Regions from separate parts of the Homo sapiens genome. Here regions 2, 3, 4, 5, 6 and 7 are each linked to region 1. Evidence: promoter capture Hi-C in 16 types of primary human blood cells and fetal thymus (Javierre and others, 2016). All regions are on one chromosome and are shown on one strand. Each heading gives the region's core, a stretch centred on a gene start or on the middle of the fragment in contact. The rest is flanking DNA. Distances are from core to core; before and after follow the strand shown.

Region 1 (4,305 bases), core at 527-3,026:
ACCCTTGTTATGCATTTGTTTATGCTGGATCTTCCACCTGGATGAACTTTCCTCTTCACTGCACCTCCTAGCACCAAAGTCTGCTATCTTTAGAGGTCTGGGAGCCTCTTCTCCCCACTCCCAAGTGGGATACTCTCTTTCCTTCCAAGGCCTAGGAAACCACATTTGATCCACACCATCAGAATGGTTCTCCTCTCTCTGCTGTCTTTGACCTAAGGTACTTTTTAAATTTCTGCTTTAAGTTCTTTTGAACACAAATGAGAGATAAAAATGAGTAAATTAATCAGCTTAAAATGATATTTACTAATCCACTTGTTTCTATCTGAAGTGTCCATTGCATCTCCTACTGGATTATAAGCTTTCTAGAGCAGGGACAAATTTCCCACTTACATCTGTAAACACAGAGGCCAGTACACAGTAGGTGCTCAACATATGTTTATTGTAGTCTTTGGTGCTAGAATCATGCAATGACATGGGTTGATGGCTGTGAGGCTGCTGGAAACTGGGACATAAATCCCAGAACATCTGCTTCTTAAAAATACTATCAGCTGTCTTAAGAGGAAGGAGGAGAAGCACCATGCACTTGGGTTGAAGCGGGGGTCTCAGTACATCTGAGCAGGGGTCTCAAGAACTCACAGAAGTCAGGGCTCCAAGTAAAGCAGCTTTATTGTTGCTGAGCTGAAGGGGTGAATGGAAGAGAGCAGTAGCAGCGTGGCTCAGCCTAGTTCTCGCTTCTCTAGAGCTGGGGATCAGGAAGTGTTTCTCAGTCCAAATGAGAGGTTGAGGGCCTGGCTTTCCAAGGGGGAATTAGTACCCAAAGGTGGGGCAGGGAGAGAGTAACTGCACCTGTGCCTCAACTCTTCTGGGCTCAGTCGCCTTCACACTCTTCCTCTTTGCAGTGGTAGGTTGTGCCCCTACTTAGGCAGCGCAGCTTTTGACGAGCCCTCCTAGGCTTCTGAACCTCAGGCCTTTGGGAACTGGAATGACAACCTTCTGAATGGGGAGCACCACAAGGAGTCGAGTAGGGAGCTAGGCAGGGGTTTGATCTTTGGGGAGGGGAGCATTTGGGAACATTTGGAGGCTTCCAAGATTGCTGCTTCTGCTGTGACATTGCTTGGCTACCAGGTCGAATCTGGAAGAAAAATAGTTATATCAGGGACCCAGGCAGCTTGGGCTTCTGTTTCTCTCCTCCACAAACTGGAGCTGTCAAAAATGAAGTCCAGCATTTACAACCCACTGAACTCCATCTCAGGAGGAGAAAAACGGACTTGAAAGGACTAAATATTTGGGAGTAAATCTTCCCAGGGGACTCACTTACTAATAACCATGTTAATGATATATGCTTCCTTAAAAAAAAAAAAAGACAAATTGTACTTAGTTGAGCTGACAGTTTACTTTTCCCAGCCCAATGTCCACCTGGTTAAGTGCAAAGGAGAGCCAAGTCTCTGCTCTTTCTTTACTCTGTCTTATTCTGTCCCCAGACTCCTAAGTCTGACTGTCCCATCTCTGCTTTTCTGGCCCTCTAACTTCTATGGCTTTCTCCCATGTTAGATTATTTGGGGTCTTTCTTTTGCAGGGATCCACTTCTCTTCCCTTCTTTCTACCCCAAGCATCTCCTACCTGGCTTTTCAGCTCCCTGGGAAGAGACGAGAGGAGAGATCAGGACTGCCTAAGCAGCACTTGAGCTACATCCAAGTGTCTCCTCAGCCAGAAGTAGCCTTACCCTAGTGGAAGATGTGTGGACAAGTTATCCCAGGAGGAGTCTGGAGGCCTTGTGTTGCCAGGAAGTAAGAGGCTCTTTTATATATCCTCCAGTTGAAGCCTCCAGGCCACATGTCATTGGAGGAGAGCCATGGAGTGGATGATTGATCTGGGTATTTCACAATTCCCAGTGCTAGATTCCTCAGCTACATGTAGCTGGGATGTGGTTCAAAGGCATCTGCAGGTGCGTGAGTGAGCAGAAGGCTGGGGCCTTCAGATTGGCCTACGCAGAAGTGGGTACACTGGCTAATCTGGATGATGTCCTTGGGAGGCTGGGCGGGTTGCAGCTGCTGTTGAATTCTATGTAGGATTGGAGGGAAAAATCAGGTTCGACATCACCCAGGGTCTGAGGAAGACCTTCCTTGTCTACTCCCCACCCATCATCCATGACTGTCAGCATCCCATTCCGTGTCATCACCTCTGTGGAGATTGGCCCATTGCTCTAGCCACACATGAGTCCTTCATCCTCTGACCTTTATAGATACATGTCACAGCCTTTACTATTGCTTTGGGTCGTGTGACCAAGATACATATCCTATCTCACCTATTAAACTGTTATTTGATGACAGTGCCTTTATCACTTCTGCATTCCTAGAGCCTGATGTTGTTCCTGACACAAAGAAAATACTCATTAGTATTTGTTGAATGAAACAGTCTATGTGCCATTAGAAAAGACTTTGTGTTTCAGGAGAAAAAAACAGGAATAAAATAAAGCCCAACTCATTTTGTTTTGTGGACGAGACCTTGACTTCTTGTTTCCATCATTCTCCCCTAAGGCATTTGTGAACACCCTTTCATAAATACTACAGGGAACTCTGTGGGTGGACCTCACCTTACACAATAGGCTGAGCAGAGGGTGGGAAGCAAAACCTTCACACACCTGCTGTCTCTTAAATGCAAAAGGGGAGCTGTTCTTGGAATTATCAAGGGACATTGTGGAAAAGCCTTCCACAGAGTGAAAAGTTCTTCTTTAGCTTTCATGAAAATTGAGATAATCATGTTTTGGCAGTGCTTAAATTGGGAACATTCTCTAAACACAGTCCCTCACCTCTGGATGCTTCCATCTCAGAATCGCTCCTGGTGTGCCCAGCTAAGTTAAAAGGCACTGATGAAACTCCCTGCTGCTCAAGAGTGTGCCTCACCTGCCTCTGTATTTCTGATGCCTGACACACAGTAGGTATTCAGGAAACAGTTGGGTAAATAAAAAGATGAGCAATTACAAGGAACATTCTGACTGTAGGGGCAGTCCTCAAAGGCCTTCAAATCATGTATAGGACAAAGGTGAGTAGGGTTGGGGTATGGGAGAGGGTATGAAGACCAGGGTGGAAAATAGGACAAGGCCAGAAAAGGAGCAGCTATTGGATCCCAAAATCCAGCAGGGCAGGATCATCAGGTTTCAATTGCTTCATCTGGGAAAACTTTGAGATGCAGTTTGGATGGAGGAAGAGAAGATCTTTGTGAGTGAAACAGCAGGTGGAAGAATGGTATGAAACCTCGCTCACTCTGTTAGAGCAGAGCCCTGGAGAGAGAGTGCCTGATTTAGACAGCCTCAGGGATAGACCCCATCTTCCTTTACTTCCTTTTCCCTTTTCTCTCTCCTTCTCTTTCTCCTCTTTTCTTCCCTCAGACACCAGAAATAACTCTGATGGTGCCTCAGAAGTGCTTCCCTTGCACTAAGCATTAGCAGGAAGGCAAAGTAACACTGGTCTCAATGCACCAGTTGCTCCTTTTCCCCACCCAAGACCTGCACCACTTAAACACATGCTTCAGAGACCTCACACATCACAAATGCATTTTTTTGAAGTTAACTAGCAAGTACCCAACCCTTACTGTCTCTGCCTAGGGCTGAGGGTTCTTTCTGGAGGCTCTGCCCTAGGCAAACTACACTTCCTGCCCCTTCTATATCTCTCCCAGACCACCTCCCATAATAAATTGCCCACAGAAATCTCTTAGCCCCCTCCTTTTCAGTACAGTGAATTTCATCACATATAGGATGGAGTGTGTCCAGCATCTAGATTTGCCTAGCTCATTAAGTGAGCCTGTTTGAGGCCCCTGAGCTGCACTGTCTTCCAGATAAACTTAAAAGTCCAGCCAGTTTTAAATCAGGACCACAGAAATGTAATGTTCTTATTCTAATCCCACTCCACTTCTCTTCCTGGTTCAGATTGTGTCTATAATTATGTGATTTGATATTTATTAAGTCCCAACTATGTACTGGATACAAGAAAGAATAAGATGTCTATATTATGTTTCAAAGCTTTCACTCTCCAGAGGGAATACAGACAAATTAATAGGTAACACAAGCTTGTAAGTGAAAAATCGGCAAATAGGCAAACTGTAGTTGTAGCTTGAGAATACAACTAGTCCTCTTAAATGTACCAAATTAGAAAGGTAGTGTCTCAAGTATGTAGCTCCCACCATTATCAGAGTCCCCACCTGGTCTGAAGACAGGAGCCCATCTCTGAGAATAATCCCATCTCATTCCTGGTCTCTATTCAGGAGACTGTTTCTCTGAGCAAGAGATATCTCTAGGTCCCCAGCCTC
Region 2 (4,305 bases), core at 1,113-3,612, 440 kb before region 1:
TTTTGTTTTCTAGTTCTTGTACATAGTAAGAATCAAAAAAATATTTGTAGAATGAATATATTGAATGCATCTTCACATACTCTCTCTCTTCATGCTCACAGTTTATAAAGATACTCAAGATTCTTTCATCCTGAAACAATTTGGACAAAACAACAACAAAAATAAATCTGTTTTAACTCCACTGCTCTCTCTAGTTACTTTCTAATCTCTTCTTTATTCTTCTCACTCACATCTCTAGAAAGATTATTCTCTTTCTCACGTCTCATTTACTCTGCACTACACTTATGCCCTTACCCCCACTTGGCGCTGCTCCACTGAAATTGCTCTTACTTGGTTTCCTAAGGACGTCGTAAAGCCAAGTCCAAGGGGGCAGTTGTCACTCACTCCTCTTCTTACAGTCTTAACTGTATCTGACACACCTGATTATTTTCTTACATATTTTTGAAACCTTTCATTTCCTGTGGCTCTGGTGGCAATACACCCTCCAGATTTCTTTCTTCTTGTCTTTTCATTGTTTTCCTTAAGGGCTCCTTTCCCTCCCCCATCATGAGGATCCTCTCCATTTGCTTTCCCTGAGTGATGTCACCAGGTATTTTGTCATCATGTCTTCTTAGGCTCCTCCTGGCTGTGACAGCTTCTGGGACATCCTTTGTTTTTGATGACTTTGACAATGTTGAGGATTACTGGTCAGGCATTTTGTAAAATGTCCCTCAATTGGGATTTGTCTAATTTTTCTCATGATGAGAATGGGGTTATGGGATTTTGGGAGAAAGAGTGCAGAGATAGCAATGAGCACACCTAGTAGCCAGATCTTGGTTTCTAGTACCATTCTCTAAGAAATAAACCAAAGCTTCTTGGAGAAATGGCTGACTCTAGGATTGGGAAGAAATATACAATATAAGCTTGGAACCTCTTATAGTACCAGTAAGTAAGGCACTACTCAAAAATAGTAATAGTAAAATGGTGGGGTAAATAAAAAAATATGAGAGCCAACTGAAAGAGTTCTTAACAGCTAAAATCAAACAATTTGAACAAGAACATAAATGAATTAGTATTGGATTATAACCTAGAGCATAAAATAAACATCCATGACTCCATACCAACATAAACAAATAATTGAATAAATAAATAAATGGAAGAGAAGAGAAAAAAGTATTGCAAATAATTTATGTAGATCCTCTGTCCTGAAGAAAGTAGAACGTAACTCCCCACTCCTTAAGTATGGATTGCACATGTGACTTCCGTCCAAAGAGTGCCATGTGCAAAGGGGGAATAAAAGTAACTTTACAGTGGAGAAACCTGACTAATGCTACATTGCCAGATGATCAAGGTCAACCCAATAGTGATGTCATGGTGATAGTGTGTACCCTTTGATATGATGTGATGAAAATGGCACCACCTTTAGTCAATGGCACAAATGTTATAAATATTTGCTTGCACATTTTTGTGGACCTAAGTTCTCAAATCAGTTGGGTAGATTCTTAGAAGTATGATTACTGGATCATGTGCTAAGACTAGGTTTAACTTTGTAAAAAACTTCCAAACTATCTCCCCAAAGAGCTATACCATTTTGTATTCACTAGTAACAAATGATAGTTCCTGTTGCTCCGCATCCTTAGCAGCATTTGGTATTATCAGCTTTCTGGATCCTGACCATTCTCATAGATGTATAATAATATCTCATTGTTATTTTAATTTGCAATTCCCTAATGACAAATTATATTTAGCATCTTTTCATATGTTTATTTGCCATCTGCATTTCTTATTTGGTGAGATGTCTGCTTAAATGTTTTGTCTGTTTCGTAATTAAGTTGTTTGTTTTTTTATTGTTGAGTGTTAAAAGATCTTTGCATATTTTGGATATAAGTGCTTTATTAGATTGTGTTTTACAAATATTTTTCCCAGTCTATGGCTTGTCTCTTCATTCTCTTAACGTTACCACGTACAGAGCAGAAGTTATTAATTTTAATGAAGTCCAATTTATTAACTTTTCTTTCATGAATTGTGCTTTTGGTGTTGTATTTCAGAACTCATTATCATACCCAAGGTTACCTAGATTTCCTCCTATGTTTTCTTCTAGACGCTGTATAGTTTTACATTTTACATTTACGTCTATGATCATTTGTGTTCATTTTTGTGAAAGGCGTAAAGTCTATGTCTAGGTTCAGTTTTTTCAAATAGGTCACCCAATGATTTTAGCACAATTTCTTAAAATGACTCCTTTTCCTTGTTCCTTTGTTAAAGGTAAGTTCACTAAGGCCCAGTGGGCTCTCCATTGATATATATGTCTATTCTTTCACCAATACCACACAGTATTTATTATTATAGCTTTATAGTAAGTCTTGAAATCAGGTGATGTGAGTCTTCGAACTTTGTTTGTCTCCTGCAGTACTGTGTTATTCTAGGTCTTTTGCCTTTCCATATAAATTTTAGTATCATTCTGTCAAGATCTGTAAAATACCTTGCTAGGATTTTGATTGGGATTGCGTTAAATCTATAGGTTAATTTGGGTGAGTTGACATCTTAACAGTACTGTGTCTTCTAATCTCTGAACACAGAATATATCTCTCCATTTATTTAGATTTTCTTTATTTCATCAGACTTTTGTAGTTTTCTGCATATAAATCCTGTACCTCTTTAGTTCAATTTTTATTTATTTATTTACTTTTTTTTTGTAGAGGTGGGGTCTCACTATGTTGCCCAGGCTGATCTGAAACTCCTGGGCTCAAGCGATCCTCCAGCCTTGACATCCCAAAGTGCTGGGATTATAGGTGTGAGCCACCACACCCAGCCTTTAGTTAGATTTGTACCTAAGTATTTTATTGTTTTTGGTACTATTGTAAATTGTATTATTCGAATTTTCACATTTCAACTGTTCATTACTGGTATATAGGAGAGCAATTGACTTTTGTTTGTTGTACTTATTAGTTCCAGGTATTGTTTTGATCAGTTCTTTGGGATTTTCTTCATAGACAATCCTATAATTTGTGAACAGAGGCAGTTCTATTTCTTCCTTTCCAATCTGTACCTCTGTGTTTCTGAGGCTGTCATTGGTGGCTCACATTATACTCTTATTGGGCATGGCTGATCTAGACAGTCCCATAGCTGAGACGTGTGATTGGTGATTGGCATGGCTGTGGAGAGCAAAAGGGTTTCTGTGAAAAAAAGCCAGCCTGCTTCATTTATCTGAGCATTCTGAAGGAGTAAATATGCAAATGTGACTTGTTGGGACTTTGAAACACATTTTGACAGCATTCTGTATCGCACTGGGGAAAACTGTTTTCTTATTTGCAGGGGTTTGTTCTAAGTACAGAAATAAAAGCTCTTCTGCAAAGAGAAGTGTAAAAAGGGACATTTCTGAGAGGTCAGCCCTAGACTGGCAGAATTTCAATGTTTTCATTAAAATTTTTTCCTGGGGCCAGGCATGGTGGCTTCCGCCTGTAATCCCAGCACTTTTGGAGGCCGAGGTGGGTGGATCACCTGAGGTCAGGAGTTTGAGATCAGCCTGACCAATATGGTGAAACCCTGTCTCTACCAAAAATATAAAAAAATTAGCTGGGCCTGGTGGCATGCGCCTGTAGTCCCAGCTACTTGGGAGGCTGAGACAGGAGAATCACTTGAATCCGGGAGGCAGAGGTTGCTGTGAGCTGAGTTTGCCCCACTGCACTCCAGCCTGGGCGACAGAGCGAGACAATGTCTCAAAAAAAAAAAAAAAAATGTTGTCTTGGGGGTAGTTGAGTCCCATCAAGGGGGTGACAAGTCAGATAAGTTTTTTCTTAATTTGATTGATCATTGCAGTTGTGTTACAAAATCTAAGCTTGCAGATTATACTAAGCTTTCCTTGACAGAGAAAATCCAAGCCAACAGGAAGCGCTGCGGGGAGAGCATGCTGCTTCTGGTTTGAATCTTGTCTCTGCACAGATAGGCTCAAAATAAAGGGACAGAGGAAGCTCTACCAAGCAAATGGAAAACAAAAAAAGGCAGGGGTTGCAATCCTAGTCTCTGATAGAACAGACTTTAAACCAACAAAGATCAAAAGAGACAAAGAAGGCCATTACATAATGATAAAGGGATCAATTCAACAAGAAGAGCTAACTATCCTAAATATACATGCACCCAATACAGGAGCACCCAGATTCATAAAGCAAGTCCTTAGAGACCTACAAAGAGACTTAGACTCCCACACAACAATAATGGGAGACTTAAACACCCCACTGTCAACATTAGACAAACCAACGGGACAGAAAGTTAACAAGGATATCCAGGAACTGAACTCAGCTCTGCACCAAGTGGACCTAATAGACA
Region 3 (4,305 bases), core at 1,001-3,500, 420 kb before region 1:
AATATTCAAGCTATCGAACTGAATCCCAAAGAAATATAAAATCTGAACAGATCAATAACTAGTAGGGAGATTAAATTAGTTATAAAAAGTCTTCCATCAAAGAAAATCCCAGGATCCAATGGCTTCACTGCTCAATTCTACCAAACATTTAAAGAACTAATATCAATCCTTTCCAAGCTCTTCCAAAAATGAAAGACAAGGGAATACTTTCAAACTCATTTTATGAGGCTAGAATTACCCTGAAATCAAAGTCAGATAGAACACTACAAGAAAAGAAAATTAGAACCCAATGTCCCTGATGAACACAGATGTAAAAATCTTCAACAAAGTTATTAGTACACTGAGTTAAAAAGGGCCGAGTGTGGTGGCTCACGCCTGTAATCCCAGCACTTTGGGAGGCCGAGGCGGGTGGATTGCCTGAGGTCAGGAATTCATGACCAGTCTGGCCAACATGGTGAAACCCTGTCTCTATTAAAAATACAAAAAAAAAAAAAAAAAAAAAAAAAAAAAAAAAAAAATTGCAGGGTGTGGTGGCGTGCACCTGTAATCCCAGCTACTAGGGAGGCTGAGGCAGGGGAATTGCTTGAACCAGGGAGGTGGAGGTTGCAGTGAGTCAAGATCACACCACTGCACTCCAGCCTGGGCAACGGAGTGAGATTCCATCTCAAAAAAAAAAAAAAAAAAAAAAAGCACATTGAAAGGATCATTCACTATGATGAAGTGGGACTTGTTTTGTGAATGAAAGGGTGGTTTAAAAATGCAAATCTATAAATGTGATGCACCACATGAACAGAATGAAGGACAAAAACCATATGAATCACTCCCAATAGATGTAGAAAAAACATTTGATGAAATTCAACATATTTTCTGATAAAAACTCTCAGAAGATCAGATATAGAAGGAATGTACCTCAGCACAATAAAGGTTATTGATGACAAACCCACAGCTAACATTACACTCAATGGCGAAAAGTTACCAGCTTTGCCTCTGACAAGGATGCTCACTTTTGCCACTTCTATTCAACATAGTACTAGATGTCTTGGCCAGTGCAATTATACAAGAGAAAGAAATAAAAGGCATCAAAATTGAAAAAACACATAGATTAAGGAAAGAGAATAAATCCACACATTTACAGTCAATCAGTTTTTGACAAATATGCTGAGAACGTGCAATGGGGAAAGGACAGTCTCTTCTATAATTGTTGGCACAGCTGGATATCCACATGTGGAAGAAGGAAATTAGACCCCTATCTTACATCATATGCAAAAATCAACTCAAAATTGATGAAAGACTTAAATGTAAGGCATGAAACTGTAAAACTACTGGAAGAAAACAGAAGAAAAGCTTCATGACACTGGTCTAGGCAATGATTTTTTGGATGTTGAACCCCAAAGCACAGACAACAAAAGCAAAATAGACAAATGGGCTTATATCAAACAAAAAAGCTTCTGTAGAGCCAAGGCAACAATCAACAGAGTGAAGAGACAACCTAAAGAATGGAGAAAATATTTTCAAACCATACATCTGGTAAGTGGTTAATATCCAAAATGTATAAGGAATTCAAACAACCCAATAGTAATTAAAAAAACCCAATTAAAAAATGGGCAAAGGATTTGAATATAAATTTCTCAAAAGAAGACATACAAATGATCAACGGGTATACAAAAATGTTCAAAATCATTAATCATCAGAGAAATGCAAATTTAAGTAACAATGACACATCAGCTCTGTCTTAGTTCATTTGTGCTGTTATAACAAAATACCTGAAACTGACTAATTTATCAAGAACACAAATTTATTTCTCATAGTTTTTGAGGCTGGGAATTTATTTATCGTAGTTTTGAGGCCAAGATCAAAGCACCAACAGGTTTGATTATTTGGTGAGGGCTGCTCCCTGCTTCTAAGATAGTTTCTGTTGCTGTATTCTCTGGAGAGGTAAAATGGTGGAAGGTGGAAGGGTAAGTGTGGAGAATGCTGTGGAAAGCCTTTTTATAAGTGCCTTAATCCCATTCCAGGGAGGAGCCCTCATGGCCTAATCACTTCTTAGAGTCCCTACCACTTAGTACTATCACATTTGCCATTAAGTTTCAACACCAGAATTTTGGAGGGGACATATTCAAACCATAGCAACCTCACACCTATTAGAACAGTTATCAAAAAATGATGAGACACAACAAGTGTTGGAGAGGATGTGGAAAAAAGGGAATCCCTGCACATTGTTGATGAGAGTATACATTAACACAGCATAGCATATGGAAAACACTATAGACATTCCTCAAAAAGTTAGAAATACAAGTACCATATGGTCCAGGTATCCTATTACTGGGTATATATCCAAAGAAAATAAATCAGTATGTTGAGGAGGTATCTGCACTCTTAATGTTCACTGAAGCACTATTCAGAATAGCCAATATATGTGAGCAACCTAGTGTATATGAAGAGATGAATGAGTAAAGAAAATACCTTAAAAAGAAGAAAATCCTGTTATTTGGGACAACACAAATGCAGCTGGAGGATATTATGTTAAGGGAAATAAGCCAGGTATGGAAAGACAAATACCACATGATCTCACTTGGATATGGAATCTAAAAAAGTTGAACTCATAGGAAAAGAGAGTAGAATGGTGGTTACCAGGAGCTGGAGGTGGGGAAGGGAAGCACTGGGGAGATGCTGGTCAAAGGACACAAAATTTCAGTTAGATAGGCAGAATAAGTTCAAGAAACCTATTTTACAATGTAGTGATTATGGTTAAAGACAATGAATTGTATTCTTGAAAATTGCTGAGAGAGTAGATTTTAGGTGTTCTCACCATAAAAAATTATAAGTGCGTGAGGTAATTCATATGTTAATTAGTTCCATTTAGCCATTCCACAATGTATACATTTTAAAACACGTTTTACACAAAAATATATATAATTTTTATCTTTTAATTAAAAATAAATTCTAAAAATGACACATGTAAGGTTATATTTATATAACCTTCAAAACCTAGCATAATTAATCTAATGGTATCTTCAAGGGAGCTAATGACTGGGAAGGGAATAAAGAAAGCTTCTGAGGTTCAGTTATTGGGATGAGTTCACTTGGTAAAAGTTAACTGAGCTGTCACTTATAATTTGTGCCCTTGTATATATGTATGCTATACTATAATAAAAATGTACACTCATTAGAAAAATTTTATTCTGATTTATCTATAGTGTTTTTGAGTGGATCTGTTTGTATGTATACAGATTTTTTAGTGGCTGCTGTGGGTATTGCATTGTATATGCATAATTTATCATCATCTATTGGTACGGACATTTTATTAAGTGAATTTGCAGACCTTACTTCCATTTAAGTCCCTTTACTTCTTGATTTCTGATATAACTGTCTTAAACATTTTCTATACATATGTTAATAGCCATATCAATGTTATGGTTATTGCTTCAACTATCAAACATAATTTTAAAAAACTCAGGAGGAAAAAGATACTGTCCTATAGTTTTAGACTTCACACTGTTCTTCCTTTATTCCTGATGTTCCACGTTGGTTTCTATCATTTCTTTTTTGTTTGAAAAACTTCCATTAGCCACATTTTTAGGATGGGTATGCTGGCATCACGTTTTCGTATTTTTCTTTCATATGAAACTATCTTTGTTTTACCTTCATCTCTGAAGGACATTTTCACTGGATACGGAATTCTAGGTTGACAGAATTCTTCTTCTTTAGCACTTGAAAGATGTGGTGACACTTTTTCCTGGCCTTCTTGGTTTCTGACAAGAAATCTGCTGTCATTCAAATAATAGTTCCCCTATAGATGATATGTCAGTTTTCTCTACTTTCAAGATTTGCTTTCAAAATTTTCTTCTTCAAGATTTTTTCTTTGTCTTTAGCTTTCAGATGTTTGATTATGGTATTTCTTATTGTGGATTTCTTTGGGATTATCCTGTTTGAGTTTCACTCATCTTCTTGAATTTGTAGGTTAATTACTTTCACCAAATTTGGGTAATTCTGAGCCATTATTTCTACAATTTTTCAGGATCACACCCTTTCTCCTCTCCTTCTGGGACTCTGATGACACGAATGCTAACACTTTTGTTGTCCCACAGTTTATTGAGGCTCTGTTTTTTTTTTTTCCTCAGTCTATTTTCTCTGTTGTTGAGATGGAATAATTTCTATTGATCTATTTTTGAGAAGGAACTTGTTTCTCATAGTTTTTGAGGCTGGGAATTTATTTCTCATAGTTTTGAGGCCAAGATCAAGGCACCAAGTTTAATTATTTGTGGAGGGCTGCTCTCTGCTTCTAAGACAGTGCCTGTTGCTGTA
Region 4 (4,305 bases), core at 1,262-3,761, 400 kb before region 1:
AGTGTCATATCTGGGAAACCCAATACAATCTAGGGGAAGGTGCCAGGAAGGGGCAAAAGTGTGACATTAATTGCTGCTCTCATTGTGCCTAATCCCTCAGAGAATCAAATATGAGACAGTGGAGGTGCTTTAGCCAAACCCTTGGCAGACAGAGATGGAATTAGCCTGGTTCAACTCCAAATTGTTTATTGTGTTTGCTGGAATGAGTTTCAGAAATGCCACTGGCTTTCAGGGATGCCATGGTTATTGTGATTACTGTGTTTGGACAGGCTGCTGTAGGCACAGTGATTTGTTTTTCTTTAAAATAGATTGTTTTCTGATTCCTGGGCCTAATTGCTCACCTTGCTGTCCATGGTAGAACAGGCCAAGTGTACTTCAGCAGGCTCAGTGTCTGTGGGAGTGTTGGGCAGGTGTGGCTGGTGGGGCCTTCTACCACCACTGGAATGCAGCCTCACACTCCCACTTGGTGACCTCCCGACATGGAAGTAGCAATTAGTAGGGCCAGCTCTGACAGGTCTGGCCACGGCTTATCCAGGGTGGGCGAAGAGAGACTCCAGGATACTGCCTTGGTGCACTTGTCTTACTCTCTTTCCACTTTTCTTGCTTTCCGATGCACACAGGAAATTGTCATCATGGCAAACCCCAAATGGAGTAGACATGGAGGGCTGAGATCTAGAAAAAGCTGCTGTGGCTGGGAAGGAGCACATGAGGTCCTATAGGCCCCATAGCTTGGGTAGTGACATTCTATTTACTGTCCTCATCTTAGTCTACTTTCCATGTAACTTTTCTCCACTTTTTCTGACAAATGGCGGCAGCAAAAATGGGGAAGAAGCTTTGGTCTCAGTATCCAGGTATCAGACCTAGATCTAGAGCTGCTTTTGTCTTTTCACCTGCTTGAACTAAACACCTCTGTTTTCATCATCACCAACCTGTTTTCATCATCACCATGGTCACCATGTCTATCTTGCCATTACTTTCAGTTCTGTGCCAAATGCCTAACACTTTATTGTTATCATCTGCCCCGTAATCGTCACCACCATCCCCACCACTAACACTGTTGCCTCTGCTCACTCTTACCACCATCACCACCACCACCTCCACCAGCTGCACCAACTTCATCACCTTCACCAGTATCGCCATCGCCATCACAATCACAAGGACTGCCACTTTGATCTTCACTTATTCCCACCGTCGCTGCCACTTTCACCACCTCCCCCATCTCCATTGCTACCACCACTATCACATCCACTACCTTTTGCACCATCACTACCATTGTCATCACTGCCATGTCAACGTGCTGCGCTGTGTTGTAGGCACAGTGGTTTGTTTTTCTTTAAAATAGATTGTTTTCTTATTCCTTTGTGACCTCCACCACCATCACCACTACCAGTGTCATCATCACCATCACCACGACTACTGTCATGGCACTGGCACTCATTCTGATTGTCATTAATACTACCACCTTTACCACCGTCACCCACCACCACCTTCACCAACACCACTATCACCCACCATCACCACCACCTCCACCACCTGCACCACCATCACCTTCACTACCACCACCATCGCCCACCTCCACCACCACTAGCCTCACCTCTACCACCACCACCATCAGGTACCACCAACACCACCACTGCCACCATCTCTACCACTACCACCATCACCCATCACCATGATCATAACTTCCACTATCACCCACAGCTACCCCACCACCTCCACCACCACCACTACCACCACCTCTACCTTCATAACCTCCACCACCACGACCCCCACCTCCACCACCATCACCTCCACTACCACCACCATCACCCACCTCCACCACCATCACCCACCACCACCCACCACCACCACTATCCTCACCTTTCACCACCTTCACCAACATGTACTACCAGCACTACCACTGCCATCACCTCCACTGCCTCCATCATCACCACTACCACCTCTATTACCTGCATCACCACTACCTCCACCACCTCCATTTCTACCACCATCACCACCACCACCAACACCTCTACCACCTCCACCACCATTATCACCACCACCACCATCATCTACCACCTTCACCACCACCACTTCTACCACCATCACCACCACCACCAACACCTCTACCACCTCCACCACCATTATCACCACCACCACCATCATCCACCACCTTCACCACCACCACTTCTACCACCATCACCACCACCACCAACACCTCTACCACCTCCACTACAATTATCACCACCACCACCATCATCCACCACCTTCACCACCACCACTTCTACCACCATCACCACCACCACCAACACCTCTACCACCTCCACTACAATTATCACCACCACCACCATCATCCACCACCTTCACCACCACCACTTCTACCACCATCACCACCACCACCAACACCTCTACCACCTCCACTACAATTATCACCACCACCACCATCATCCACCACCTTCACCACCACCACTTCTACTACCATCACCACCACCACCAACACCTCTACCACCTCCACCACCATTATCACCACCACCACCATCATCCACCACCTTCACCACCACCACTTCTACTACCATCACCACCACCACCAACACCTCTACCACCTCCACCACCATTATCACCACCACCACCATCATCCACCACCTTCACCACCACCACTTCTACTACCATCACCACCACCACCAACACCTCTACCACCTCCACCACCATTATCACCACCACCACCATCATCCACCACCTTCACCACCACCACTTCTACTACCATCACCACCACCACCAACACCTGTACCACCTCCACTACAATTATCACCACCACCAACATCCACCACCTTCACCACCACCACTTCTACCACCATCACCACCACCACCACCACCACCTCCACCACCTACACCACCATTACCACCACCATTACCACCACCACCACCATCACCACCACCATCACCAGCACCAATCTATCACATTGCTACCTTGATTCATTCTCATCATCACCACCACTGCTACAGCCACTATCATCACCATTACCACTAGTTCTTATCAGCACCACCACAACTAGGATGATGGTGGTGGTGGTGGTGATGGTGGTGGTGGAAATGATGGTAGTGGAGGTGGCAGAGGCGGTGGTGGTGGCGGTGATGGTGGTAGAAGTGGAAGTAGGAGGAGAGAAGACAGGGATAAATAGCCATCTTCACATTATTAAAGGCTTTCAGAAGAATAGTGAAAGTTATTTTATGTGAATAAAGAAGTTAGAGTTAGAAAAACAGAACTTATACAGAATTATAATTACACTGGGTAAATGTAAGCAATGTCTTATGGAACTAGGAGAGACCAGAGGATTAAGAAGTTTGAGGGTAAAAGATACTGAGTTTAATTGGGAGCATGTTGAGTTTCTCTGGTAACCAACCAGCTGGGGTGGTTTTCCTGTCCAATCCCTCACTGATGCTTGAATCCCTCCCTGAAGAGTTCCTCAAGAGTAGAAATCTAAGCTAATGCTTTTTATGTTAGGGAACTCATTTAATCCTGAAGTAGGTGATTCCTTCTGACTATTTTTATTTTATAAATTTTAAGTCATTCTATAATACTGGAACACATTTTGTTTTAAAATTTAAGACGTTATATGTCAAGATGAAATTATTCCTGGTCATCACTGCCAATCCTTGTTCCTTTAGCACCTTCACATGGGCAACCAATGTTGTAAATTGGTTTGATTGTTAAAATAGATCATTTTCTCACCTTTATGTACATATTTAGAAACAACATGGTACTGTGTTGTGTGTATATTTTACCTGAATAGTATTATATATTTTGTGTGTCTTTCTGCTGCTTGCTTTTTTCCCCACTCAGCAATAAATTAGCATGAAGGGTAAGAGGATGGAGCCTGGGGCCACACTGCCTGGACTCAGATCATAGCTTTGTCACTTGCTAGTTGCATGATACAAATTATTTAAACCCTCCAGCCGCAGTTTCTCTGCTTTATAAATTGGGATTGTGGTATACCTATAGCCACAGGGTCTTGTGAGGATTAGATGAGTAAATTTAGGTAAGAACTTAGAACCCTGCCTTGCTCACGCTGTTGACAGGCATAAAGCAACATTATTCCTTATCACAATTCTTTAGTAATTTATAGGTTGGATCTGCCACAGTTTATTTGGCCACTCCTAAATCGATGGGCATGTAGGTTGTTCTGATTTTCATTATTACAAACAAAGCTTCAAGCATTTTTTTTTATATATGCTTCCTTGTACACATGAATGATAGTTTCTTAAGATAGGCCAGGCGAGGTGGCCCACGCCTGTAATCCCAGTACTTTGGGAGGCCGAGGTGGGCAG
Region 5 (4,305 bases), core at 1,130-3,629, 380 kb before region 1:
TCTTCCTGGTGCAGGAATCACTCTACAATACCTTTGGCAGATAGTTTTGCCATCCTAGTGATGGGGAACACTCCTCTTGAAATCTCTAGCTACTTTTAATGAAATCCAAACTATTTACTATAGAATTGGCTTCACTATCATGTAAATCTATGTTAATAGTAACTATCTGCTAATAGTAATAATCATATTAACCCTTCACATTTTACAAATTACTAAATACTTCCACAAATACCTCATTCGATCCTGAGGACAGCCATCTAGGATGGGTGGGTGATCATCAGTGCAATTTTACAGATGCAGAAACTGAGGCTGGGAGATTTGCCAAAGATCATGCAGCATTTACGTAATCCAGGACTTCATTATAAAAAATCTCCAGAAGAGCTGATTGTTCACTGAGGGTGCATAAAACTATTCATTGGGAGCAGAAAGAAAAAATTTGAATTTTTTCTTTATGTATTTTTATCTTTTCTTTTAAAATTGTCTGTATTTTGTGTTTGTCTTTTAACTTTCATGATGTTAGAATGACAGTACATATCTATTGCTTCTAAATAATATGTATGTATTATATGATGAACCCCAATAGAACTTTCAACTCTTTATTAAAATATGCATTCAGAAAAGTGCATATATTGTAAATGTCCACCTCAATGAATTTTCACAAACTGAACACAACCAGATAAGCAGCCCCCAGATAAAAAAATAGAATGTTACCAGCAACACAGAAACCTTCCTTCTTCTCCCATCCAATGACCACGCTACTACAACCAACACACACACAACCACGTTCTTACTGTCTACAACAGAGATTTATTTGGCCAGCTTTTGTACTGTACATAAATGATATAAATGGAACTATACAGCGTGTTTTATGTTGAACCCTATGAACAGTTTTTGACCTCCATAAATGGCAATTTCATATGTTTCATCCTAATGCTTTTTTATGTGTCTTTTTTTTGGCCACTTACTTTATGTTTGTGAGATTCATCCTTATTGCTGTGTGTAGCTGTAGATCATTTGTATACATTGCTGTATGGAATTCCATTGTCTGAATATACCACCGTTTATTTATTCATTGATGGGTATTTGTATTCTTTCTGATACTTGGATATTATGAATAACACTAGAATAAACATTTTTTTTTGAAAGAAGTAAGCCTTCATTTCTTTGTTTTGCAAATAAAGCTGGCTGAGTTGGTTGCCTTTTGGTGATTAGTCAAATAGGCCAAATCCCATATTCTCATCCAACTCCTCCAACTCTTCTTGGCTTCAGCCTTGGCTGGAGCTGCAGCAGGAGCAGCAGTGGTGGCAGTGGCCCCAGGGGCAGCAGCCACAAAGGCAGATGGATCGGCCAAGAAGGCCTTGACCTTTTCAGCAAGTGGGAAGGTGCAATCAGTTTCCACAGACAAAGCCAGGACTTGCTTGTACCCATTGATGGTAGAATGAGGTACTGATGCAACAGTTGGGTAACCAATCTGCAGGCAAACACTGGCAACATTGCGGACACCCTCCAGGAGGTGAGAATGCAGTTTCCTATGTGATGTCAAGCACTTCAGGGTTGTAGATACTGCTACTGTCAAACAGCTGCTGGATAATCATCCCAAAGGAGAAGGGAGAGATGTTCATTCAGCATGTTCAGCAGTGTGGCTTCACTGGCTCCCACTTTGTCACCAGTCTTGATCAGCTGCACATCACTCAGGATTTCAGTGGTGATGCTTAAAGCCTGGAAAAAGGAGGTCTTCTTAGGCTCCAGACCGGTGTTCTGGCCTGGGACAGTGACTTCACATGGGGCAATGGCACCAGCATGGGTGGCAGCTGGCACCTTACTATTCAGCAGCATGTCCCTGAACTTAGTGAGGTCTTCCTTGGTGAACGCAAAGCCCACATTTCCCTGGATATGAGGCAACAGTTTTTCCAGAGCTGGGTTGTTTTCCAGGTGCCCTTGGATGGCCTTGCACATCATGGTGTTCTTGCCCATTGGCACCATGGCTTTCCCTCAGAGGGACATGTGGATCTGCTGCATCTACTTGGAGCCCACATTGCTGCTTCTACAATGAAACATTTCAGATAATGATTGAAAAATTGGATGATCTGAAGGAAGTAGTTGGACTTCCAGGTTGCCCTGTATTCCCTGGGCAGCCTGGCAGTGTGTCAGGGGTTGCCATGCAGGGTTTAAAGGTGATGCCACTTTCACAAGGATGCCTGATGAGAGCTAGAATGAACATTCTAATGTTTGAGTTTTGGTGACCGTATGCGGGGCAGATGCCTAGGAGAGGAATTGTTCAGTCATTGGCTGTGTATACATTCTACTTTAGTCATGACCGTCAAAGAGTTTTCCAAAGTGGTTGTACCAATTTGCACTCCCACAACCTCACCCACACTGTGATTCTGTCTTCTTACTTTTATCCCCTCCAGTCGGTGTGTTGTGGTATCTCTTTGAGGTTTTCATTTGCATTTCTCTGATGAATAATGAGAGGTTGAACACCGTTTTTATATGTTTATTGGTGAGGCTGAAATATTTTTATTACCAGGATGTGCAACATAAAAACTTTTAGGACTTGGGAATTGTAGGATATTTTCTCTAATTGCTTAGACTAGTTTTTTCTTAGACCATTGTAAGGAAAAGGAAGTTCCATCTTCTGGTGCTGGGACAGAAAAGGGGAGCATATGAAAGGGAGGTGAGGACCTCCGCTTTTCATCTTTGCCAGAGTCTGCTCCGGGTTTGACAAGAAGCGTGTTCTGTACCCAACAGCCAGTTTTCTCCTGCCTTGCTGTGATGTTCCCCAACCCTGGGGCGGACATCCCTTCAGGGACTGGCTGACAAAGGCTATTTTACTGTATTCAGAGAGAAGCAAAATCTTGTGGTAACCTATAAGCAATTCAAGTGCAAGAGTAGGTGATAATTAAAGATTAAAAGCATTGCATCCACACTTCCTATAATCTCAGCTACTTATTTGGTCTCTGCTTGCATATTTCATGGATGGTGGGATCACTACTTCATGAGCAGCTCATTTCATTTGCTGGGCCATTTTATTCCTGATATGAGCAGAATCTGCTTTTCTGTGCCCAGAACTCACTGATCCATGCTATTCTCCTTGGGATCACAAAGAATATATCCACTGCCTCTCTCTTTGACATTTGACAGGCCTGAAGACAGCCACTGTGTGTCTCTAAGTCTCCTCATCTCTGGATGAAACGCCCCCTTCCTTCAGCCACAGCTCATGTGACAAGGTGCCCAGAGACCTCGCTCTTTTTCTCACATTAATTTGGATGAACTAAAAGTTGGCCAGGGTCTACCTTCAAATGCAGCATCCGAGTTAAGGCTCCAGGGGCAGTCTGACCTGCAGTACTCCCTGTACCTGCTGTTCTCTTTGCGCTGATACTTACCCCGATCCCACATGGATGGCTCCTCCTATTGTTCATGTCGCTACTCCGACATCCCCATCTCAGATCGGCCTTTCCACGCTACCCGAGCTAAAGAGCACCCCTCTTCTCTGGTCTCTCCTCACCACTTTGTTTCATTTTCTTCATTTTCACTTTCTTATTTATGCATTTGCTGAGTTGCTTTTTGTCTGTCTTCCTTCTCATGTGAGCTCTGGGAGGCAGGGATTCTGTGTATCTGGTTCGCTGCTGTAACTCCAGTGCTTGGCTCATAGGAGATTCTGTGTCACTTACTCTCACATAGGAGAAATTTGTTTTAAGGGAACAATAGAAGTGGTGGAGTCTAGATTTGAATTCCAGAAGTCTGATTCCTGAGCCTATGTCCTGAACCATTATTCGTGTTGCTCCCACCCTATAAATAGTGTAACTCTGTCTTGCACATATAGCCTTCCTCTGACTCTGTTAGATGCTGCATCTCTGTACTCTTGTCTTCTCCACATGGAGCACTGACGGCCGGAGTGTGTGCGGCCATCTCCAACTCAGGCCAGACTGGGTGTGATTAGTAGAAGGCCAAGTGCCTCTATGGCCAGCAGGTGGTGCTGTTGGGAAGAGAAGAGAAACGGTCCCCAGCGGCTTCTAAAGGAGGAAAGACAGGTTATGAGGCTGGCTTGGGAACCGGGTGATGAGGGAGGTTGAGTTGAGAAGGCCCTGCCAGCTGGCCACTTATTTTCTTTCAACCATTTTCAGATGTGAGGCAGGTGTCCGTAGGAGAGAAGGAGAGCAGGAGTGGACAAGTCCAGATCTGCTGTCGAATAGGGGTGGTGGCCCCCACGATACCACTTCTCCTGGTCAAGACCTGCCAGTTCATGCTGAAACAGGCCTAGGCTGGGAACCTGCTCATTGATCTAGTATTTGATCACCCCTCACC
Region 6 (4,305 bases), core at 1,003-3,502, 340 kb before region 1:
TGCTCAACATCACTAATCCTCAGGGCAATGCAAACTAAAACCACAGTGAGATATCCTCTCACTCCAGCAAGAATGGCTATGATCAAAAAGATGAAGAATAACAGATGCTTGAGAGGATGCAGAGAATTCTCATACACCATTGGTGGGTATGCAAATTAATACAGCCATTATGGGTAACAGTATGGAGATTTCTGAAATAACTAAAAATAGAACTACCATGTGATCCTGCAATCCCACTACTAAGTATTTATTTGAAGGAAAGAAAATCAGTATATCAAAAGGATATACACATCCTAATGTTTACTGCAGCACTATCACAATAGCAAAGATATGGAATCAACCTAAGAGTCCATCAACAGATGAATGCACAAAGAAAATATTATATATATATATATAATGGAATACCACTCAGCCATAAAAATAAGGAAATCATATTATTTGCAGCAAAATGGATGAAACTGGATGGAGGTCATTATGTTAAATAGAATATGCCAGACACAGAAAGACAATGATCACCTGTTCCATCATATGTGGGAGCTAAAAATGGTGATTTCATGAAGGTAGAGAATAGAATGATAGTTACCAGAGGCTGGGAAAGGCGTGTATGTGCATGGGGTTGTGGGGGATAAAGAGAGGTTGGTTAATGGGTACAAACATATAGTTAAATAGAATAAACAAGTTCTAATGACTGATATTAGAGTGAGCTGACTATAGTTAATGAGAATGTGTTGTATCTTTCAAAATATCTGGAAGTGAGGAACTGAAATGTACTCACCACAGATAAACGATAAATGCTCACGGTGATGGATATTCTAAATACTGTGACTTGATCATTATACATTCTATGTGTGTAGCAAAATGTCACATGTACCCCATAAATATGTATATTATGTACCCATAGAAAATAAAAATATATTACACAACCAAAAACAAACAAACAAAATTCTAAACTCTGGGAGAATGTCTTCAGATCTTGTCAATAGGAAAGATTCCTTAATCAGGTAATAAAAAGCATACCAATAAGGTGGAAAAATGACAAATTGGATTTCATTAAAATTAAAAATTTCTGATTATCAAAAACACCACCAAGATTGCAAAATGCCAAGCCACAGAGATGGAGAAGCTGTATGTAATATCTATATTTAACAAAGGGCTTGTTCCCAGAACATATATACACATGTGTTCCTACTCACAGATCAACAAAAAAACAAGAAATGAGCAAATAGAAAAATATCTGAACAACCTGAACAGGCAATTCATGAAAGGGCATTTCTGTATTTCCAATAAACATATAATAAAGAGTTTAATCTCACCATTCATAAGAGAAATGCAAATTCAAGTCACAACGTGTTATCTCCACATAGCCACCGAAATGGCTAACACGAAAAAAGATAGACAATACCAAGTTTAGACAGAGTGTGGAGCAATTGAAACTTTCACACACTGCTGATGGGAATAATAGATGGTAGAAAGAATTTGGAAAAGTTAACAGTATTCACTAGAGCTGAGCATATCCCTATCCTCTGACCCAGTCATTATATTTTCCTAGGTATGTACCTAACAGAAGTGTGTACATATAGTCACAAAAGGACAAATACGTAAATATTCACATTAGCACTATTTTTAAAAATTCCAAATTGGAAACTACTAAAATACCTTTTAGCAATAAAATGGATGCATAAATGGTAGTATATTCTCATAGAGAAATACCATACAGCAATGAGAATCAACGATCTATATCTACAAACCAGAAAATGAATCAGTATCACAAACACAATTTTGGGGAAAAAAAATCCAGGCACCAAAGAGTTCATACTGTATGATTCCCTTTATATACAGTTCAGAACATGAAGAACAAATGTACAGTGTTAGATGCCAGGAAAAAGTTAATGTTTGGGGGCTGGTAGTGACTCGGACTGCTTTTGAGAACCTGCTTCCCAGGTGGACTGCTTCTGAGATGCTGGTAACATGTTATTTCTTCATTTGTGCATTGGTTGCATGGTTGTTTAGCTTATGAAGCTTTATTAAGTTGTATACCTGTACTTGGTGAGCTTTTATTAATTTATACTTCAATTTTAGTCAGTTAAAAGGTTACTTTAAAGGGAAGGAAGCCACCAGAATGCCAATATTCCTGCAACTTAGTGAACAAGGAAAGAAAGATATGATGAAGTCAGCATAAGAGTCAGTGCCACAGCATGAAGTGCTTTGTAGGACAGTAAGGTCTTCAGACTTTTCTCTAGATACAATGGCAAGATATTTGATCATTTCAATTAGGGAGGACATAATCTTCTCTATATTTTATATGATTGCTGTGGTTGTTCTGATATGGGATTGCTGTGGCACAAGATAGGAATACGGAGACAAGATAGAAATCAGGACACAAGATAGGAAACTTCTGCAGTGGTTCAGGTGAGGGTGATGGTGGCTCTAATTAGGGTAAGAACATTGAAGATAATGAGAAGATGAGAAGTGATAATAAGCTTAAGGCAGAACTTGGGATCTAGGAAGAAGTAGTATGTGGGAGGTGAGGAAAAGAGGAATAAGAGATGAATCCTAGGTCTTAAAAATTATTATTATGACTACTATCATTATTTCAAACATTATTATCCTTATTTAGTTTGTGGCATGAGTACCTTCACACACACGATGATATTGTATATTTAAAAATGAAACCATTTCACAAATGATAGGCGTGACATTGTTATATTTAAAATGAGTGGATATTATAAACAACTTCATATTGAATTCTACAACTTAGATGAAAAGCACAAATTCCTTGAAAATAAAAAACTAACACATAAATGAAAACTTGACAGCCCTGTGATGGTCTTTTGACGTGTCAGCTTGGCTGCATGACAGTCCCTAGTTACTCAATCAAATACTAATCTAGGTGTTGCTGTGAAGGTAGATGTGATTAAAGTCCATTATGAATTGACTCTAAGTAAGGGAGAAAATCCTAGTTTATACAGGCTGGTCTGATTCAATCAGTTGAAAGGCTTTAAAAGCCAAGCTAAATCTTCCCTGAAGAAATTATATGTGTGGATTACAGCTTCAGCCTATGACAGAGTTCCAGCTTACCCTCTTGATGTCCTGACTTCTGGATTTTAGACTTGCCTAGCTGCCTTTGCAATCACATAAATTGAGTCCTTGTAGTAAATCTCTGAAGTACATTTCCAACTGGTTCTGTTCCTCTCATTGTACCCTGACTGAGACAATCTCTAAAATTATTACAGAAATAAAACCCATAGTTTAAAACCTTCCCATATAGAATGCCCCAGGTCCAAAAGGATTAACTGGTGAATTATACCACACACTTAAGAAATAAAAATTTCAATCATACATAATTTCTTTCATAAAACAGAGAAAGAGGGAATATTCACCAAGTCTTTTTCAGGTTAACGTAGCCCTGATATTGAAACTTGACAAGGACATTAAATGAAAAGAAAGTTACAGATCGTTATTCCTCAGGAGCATAGAAGCAAAAATCCTTAAGAAAATATCAGTAAATTGAGTCTAGCAATATATTAAGAGGATTTGTCACAGAATGCAAGGTTTATTTAATATTATAAATGTAATTCACCAAATTAACTGAATAAAGGAAGAAATTATATCATCTGAATAGATGTAGAGAAAGCATTTGACAAAATTCAACATGCATTGAGGATAAAACTCTTGCAAACTAGGAATAGAAAGAAATTTTCTCTATGCGATGAAGGTCATCTATGAAAAGCCTTGGCTAACATTATATTAATTGTGAAATATTTTTCCCCTAATATCAGAAACAAGGCAAGTATATCCCAATTTACTACTTCTATTCTAACATTTCCTGGAAGTTCCAGCCAGTGCAATAAGGTAAGAAAAATAAGTACAAGCATGGATTGGAAAGAAGAAGCACAAATGTCTTTACTCACAAATGGCATAATTGCCCATGCAGAAATTCCTAAGAAACTTATAGAAATATGTATTGGAACTAATATGGAACTTTATCAAGGCCACAGAATACAAGGTCAATATATAGAAATCAATTATATTTCTATAAACCATCACCACACAATTGGAAATAAAATTTAGAAATAACTTTATGACAGCATAAAAGATAAAATGTTAGTAATATATTTAACAAAAATTTGTAAGTCTGCTACACTGAAAATAATAAAACAATCTGGAGAAAAACTAGACAGGATCCAAATAAATGAAGAGATATAGGTTCACATATTGGATAACACACTATTTTGAATGTATCAGTCCTCTTAAATTGATCTATTTATTCCTTGCAATCCTAATAAAAATCCCAGCTGGCTTTTT
Region 7 (4,305 bases), core at 1,008-3,507, 310 kb before region 1:
TTAACTATTCTCCTGAGATAACCACGGTTACTAGTTTATAAGTAAACTCCAGCAAACCCTCATGTAGATACTATGTGAGTTTCAGAGGTTTAATTTGCACAGAGTGCTTCAAGTGCCCATTATTTGTGAAAAATGAGGATCATCTGTCCTTTAGCTATTTTCTCTCTCTATAAAAAAACTGTCCTTTGTGAAGCTGGCAAACCTCATTAAGCATTCTTTTCTGAAAAGCCCAATCCTCCTTCAGTTTATCAAGCATAAATGATAAACCAAATAATTTATTGGTAAAAATAACTTTGGAATCTATTAGTAATTCATGAGGCAAAGAAAAGTAGGTCTAAAATTGTGTTGATAGAACTGTTTTAAGTCACGTAATCCTTAGCTAATTCTTCAGCATGCATCAGCTATGGTTCCTAGGATTTCAACATGAGAAAGAACGCTGTGAAAGTGCCTCACCCATCCCAGGAGCATCCCTGTTCCTTCTGGCATCCCTGAAGTGTGTCAGTTTCCTGATAGTAACTTAGATGACTAAATTGTTTAGTTTCAGAGTACTAGGGAGGGATAACTAGCCTCATGTTGTTCCTCTGAGATGCTGAGAAAGAATTTAATAGTAGGGCTCAACTCAAAGACGTTCCTACCTCTTCAAATTCCCATGTTAGGTCCTCAGTTTTTTTTGTTTCTCTACTGTACCAACCCAATCAAGTTTGAAACATTGCAGATACAACACAGCATTCTTCTGGGTAAAGAGCACAAGGCAAAAATCTTCCCTGAGAGGGGCTTTCTCAGGAAAACAAGGTGCCGACCCTGTAGGTGCTATGGTACCCATGCCGTCTAATTAGTAGTGACTACAGCTAGAAGAATGGGGGATGCAGGGAAAGGATCTTCACTAGATAGGCCTCACTCTAAACAATGCCATTCTTTATTATCTGTTTTTGACATGTTTGAAATTATTGGTTAGTTATGATTAGTTATTATTCTTATTTCTTCTACATTTTAGAGTTTATATTTCTTAGAAGACCCACTATGTAATGTGCATAATTTTAGGCCACTCTTTGAGTTTTTGTAGGAGACTTTTGTGGTAGGTGTATTTTTTATTTCTGTTTTACAGCTGTGTAAACTGTGTTTCAAGGAGGTTAGGAAATATTTAGTTCCACACAGTAGTGGTGGCTGTAGATGTATGCATAACCAAGGTACTCAAGTTTTTTCCAAGTTGGGACAGTGAGTAATACTAGCTGAAGTGTTAATATGGTTAAATAAGCTATACTAAGAAATTATCCGTGGGATCTGTGCCAGCTATACTTTACTTATTTAGGTAAAAACATCCATGAAGTAAACAGCAGGATAAATAGCTTTACAGAACTTCACTCCTCGAATGTGCAAAGAAAGCCTGAAATCCTACTAAATGTCATTTCAAAAGAGAGAAATTGTGAAGGAGTAAATTGAATTAGCATGTAGGAGAAAAGCTTCAAAATGGATGCAGCACATACATTAAGGCAGTTTGGAAGAAAATGGGAGAAGATGAGTTTGGATTTCTAGTAGACCACAAGTCACTCATAGTTACAAGGGCCACAGAGATGAGGTTAGTGTGTAAATCTGCAAATGTGAAGCTTTAAGAAGGGGCCCCAACATGACTCTAATGGCCTAGAAAACTGAGAGATGATGTTGCCTTGTTCAAGCCCATTAATACCATGTCAGAACACACCCAGGTTGGGGCTGTCAGCATCTAGGAAGCTGATATATGATTTTGTCACCCTGTTCAAGTCAATTAATTGTCAAGAAAAGCCTAAGGATCAATAGGCCATGATAAAAGGGGAAGTTAGTTGTAAAGAAAAACTGCAGTTGAGGGTTAGGATATAGCCAGGCTGCAGGATCAGCACATACTGGTCTCTACTAAAGAGAACACAGCTAGATACTGGGCATGTGCAACTGAATGGGAGTAGTTTTACATACAGGATACTTTGGAAGCTGGGAAGTAGGAGAAGCACCATCTCTAATTATAGGGAAGCACCACAATTGTCAGACAATTTGTCACGTTCTACAATTGCCACTGGCATGAGGAACCTGAGATAATGTCCCAAGTGAATCACTGTGCACTTATCCTGCTGGGGAGGATCATGGACTAGGAATTTTGTGATACCAGCATGGATTACATGCAAGTGGTATTTTGGTTGGGAAATAAGCACATCATGCTAGTCCTGGGCTGTTCCCTGTGTAGGGCTGCCTGCCCCTTATAAAAGGACTCTCCACCACACTGATGCTATCTTCTTGCCATTCAGTTGTAGATCTTTGAAGACTCTGGTGAGTACAAATATTAGAAGCTTTTCTTGCACTTGGATGGTGTTAGGGTCTAACCTGGGTACAGAAATGCCTGTTTATTTTAACCAATTTATCCTCATGGATAGGAAAAAGAAGATAATGAGGTCTTGAAGGTAAATTTTAGCTGGTATTTGGTAGATAAACATGAAGGTGATGAGGAACCTGGAGTCAAATATATAAAATCTTAAACTGAAGGAGAGTGAGAGACACAAGATGCTGTTCTGTCTCCTGCTTCACATCTGTTCCAAATACATCTCTCTTGGAGTGCAATCTCCTTGGGTGATGGGTGCAAGTTTTTGCAATTCTCTTAAAAAACTCATGGCTCAGCACCACAGCCAGCTCATTAAAACTGGTAACTAGGGCCTCATGGAAGATAAGAGCACAGATTTGTTTGGTATTGGCTAGACTTTTAATATCTGAGTTTTTCTTCTTCAGATAGTGTTTGTATTCAGACAACATTTGTTGCTGTCTCATAGGCAATTTTATTTTCAGAAAATGGTAGAATGAGAGAACAGCCAGAAAGACGGAAGAACTGAGGGTAAGAGGTCCTAAAAGTGAAGTGTGAAGAAGGTTCACAAAGTCATAAAGACTGTATTAGGGATCAAAGTTGGTCCCTAGATACTGGAGATTTGATGTCCTAGCTAATTGCTCCACCAACAGGACTGTCTCTCTTATGAGCACTGTTTCGTATGTATCTTTCAGATTCTCTGAGACTGAGGAGAGATGTCTTACCAGCAGCAGCAGTGCAAGCAGCCCTGCCAGCCACCTCCTGTGTGCCCCACGCCAAAGTGCCCAGAGCCATGTCCACCCCCGAAGTGCCCTGAGCCTTACCTGCCTCCTCCTTGTCCACCTGAGCATTGCCCACCTCCACCATGCCAGGATAAATGCCCTCCTGTGCAACCATACCCACCCTGCCAGCAGAAGTATCCACCCAAGAGCAAGTAACATCACTAGAATTCATCAGGACCATGAAACAACAAGATCCAGTGGCTCTTCTTACTCCCAGGACTCCATCATCTTCCCTTCAGCTGTAGTGGGAGGCTGCATCTTCCCTAACCTCTGTCTGGCTTGAGCGTTGACAGAGAAAAGGCTTAGTTCTGAAAACCGATATGTTGTTGGAAGATGAGCAGCCAGATCACTGCCTAATCTCGCTTTGCTGTCTGTGATGTAGATGGTGGTTCCTATCCTGAGAGCAAGTGTGTTTATTCTTTTGCTTCTCCCCAATAAAGCACATGTTTCATGGTCAAGCCCACATTGCTTTTGTTTGCATTTCGTGTCTTTAACCTCTTCTGTTAACTACACCAAGTGAATGTTCCTTTTCATTCCTATTGAATTATTAGAATTATTAGGCTTTTCCATCACTGAATTCAGTGTTGCGTGCAATGTGTGTTTTGGATTCGGTACAACAAATAATTCTCTTTTATTGGTTTAAAACTCATTTTTACCCCTTCTAGCTTGTATGGCTGAAAAAATTACCTAAACTCTCTTAGCTTCAGTTTCATCATCTGTAAAAAGTAAGAGAGCATGTATTCAGCTGAGTGTACTCATAGCAATTGATTTATTCACAAATGTTTCCTAATTGTCTATCATGTGCCAGCCAGTCTTCTATGCACTGCTGATAGGGATAATGATGACCAAACAAAGTCCTTGCTCTTATAGAGTCTACAGTCTTAAGAGAGTTACATATCACCCCCACCCCCCGACCCCCACACACCTCCCACACACAGGACAAATTATAGTAATACATGGGCTATATTTAAAGAAAATTATTTAGAAAGACCCTTTGAAGTGACTTTTGGCTCAAAGACATGAATGAATAGAAGAGGGAGCCATGGGTATATCAGGGGTAGATTGTTCCTGTTGGAAGAAATGGCCAGTGCTAAAGAAATACAAAATAACATTAGCCGGGCGTGGTGGTGGGCGCCTGTAGTCCCAGCTACTCGGGAGGCTGAGGCAGGAGAATGGCGTGAATCCGAGAGGCGGGCTTGCAGT

The links. Contacts are between HindIII fragments. The CHiCAGO score rates a contact against its expected background, and 5 or more counts as called.
Region 2: a contact is called between a fragment that was not itself captured here and the fragment with the promoter of LCE6A in region 1, in 1 of 17 cell types (M2 macrophages). The highest score is 6.6, in M2 macrophages.
Region 3: a fragment that was not itself captured here is called in contact with the fragment with the promoter of LCE6A in region 1 in 4 of 17 cell types (M2 macrophages, megakaryocytes, M0 macrophages and 1 more); the score reaches 8.5 in M2 macrophages.
Region 4: a fragment that was not itself captured here is called in contact with the fragment with the promoter of LCE6A in region 1 in 4 of 17 cell types (M2 macrophages, M0 macrophages, endothelial precursors and 1 more); the score reaches 6.8 in M2 macrophages.
Region 5: a fragment that was not itself captured here is called in contact with the fragment with the promoter of LCE6A in region 1 in 5 of 17 cell types (M0 macrophages, M2 macrophages, M1 macrophages and 2 more); the score reaches 9.1 in M0 macrophages.
Region 6: a fragment that was not itself captured here is called in contact with the fragment with the promoter of LCE6A in region 1 in 4 of 17 cell types (M2 macrophages, erythroblasts, M0 macrophages and 1 more); the score reaches 7.5 in M2 macrophages.
Region 7: the fragment with the promoter of SPRR2G here is called in contact with the fragment with the promoter of LCE6A in region 1 in 5 of 17 cell types (M1 macrophages, M0 macrophages, M2 macrophages and 2 more); the score reaches 9.3 in M1 macrophages.

Annotation. Positions count from the first base shown.
Region 1 is chr1:152,840,327-152,844,631 of GRCh38, reverse strand. LCE6A (late cornified envelope 6A) reads right to left here and starts at 1,776. Exons shown (of 2, transcript NM_001128600.2): 1 at 1,621-1,776; 2 at 649-1,132. The coding sequence starts at 1,111. The coding sequence ends at 869. The HindIII fragment of the contact is 3,660 bases long and covers 361-4,020 here.
Region 2 is chr1:153,282,470-153,286,774 of GRCh38, reverse strand. No RefSeq gene overlaps it. Among named protein-coding and RNA genes, the nearest start is that of LORICRIN, 25 kb to the right of the region's middle. The HindIII fragment of the contact is 2,915 bases long and covers 905-3,819 here.
Region 3 is chr1:153,264,579-153,268,883 of GRCh38, reverse strand. No RefSeq gene overlaps it. Among named protein-coding and RNA genes, the nearest start is that of LORICRIN, 7.0 kb to the right of the region's middle. The HindIII fragment of the contact is 1,606 bases long and covers 1,448-3,053 here.
Region 4 is chr1:153,241,870-153,246,174 of GRCh38, reverse strand. No RefSeq gene overlaps it. Among named protein-coding and RNA genes, the nearest start is that of LORICRIN, 16 kb to the left of the region's middle. The HindIII fragment of the contact is 3,353 bases long and covers 835-4,187 here.
Region 5 is chr1:153,222,910-153,227,214 of GRCh38, reverse strand. It overlaps the pseudogene RPLP0P4. Among named protein-coding and RNA genes, the nearest start is that of PRR9, 7.5 kb to the right of the region's middle. The HindIII fragment of the contact is 8,208 bases long and covers 1-4,305 here.
Region 6 is chr1:153,177,874-153,182,178 of GRCh38, reverse strand. The region is part of intron 2 of LOC101928009 (a long non-coding RNA gene); the gene reads right to left. It also overlaps a transcript of SPRR2G not described here. Among named protein-coding and RNA genes, the nearest start is that of LELP1, 23 kb to the left of the region's middle. The HindIII fragment of the contact is 461 bases long and covers 2,022-2,482 here.
Region 7 is chr1:153,148,842-153,153,146 of GRCh38, reverse strand. SPRR2G (small proline rich protein 2G) reads left to right here and starts at 2,257. Exons shown (of 2, transcript NM_001014291.4): 1 at 2,257-2,295; 2 at 3,016-3,565. The coding sequence starts at 3,037. The coding sequence ends at 3,258. The HindIII fragment of the contact is 711 bases long and covers 1,607-2,317 here.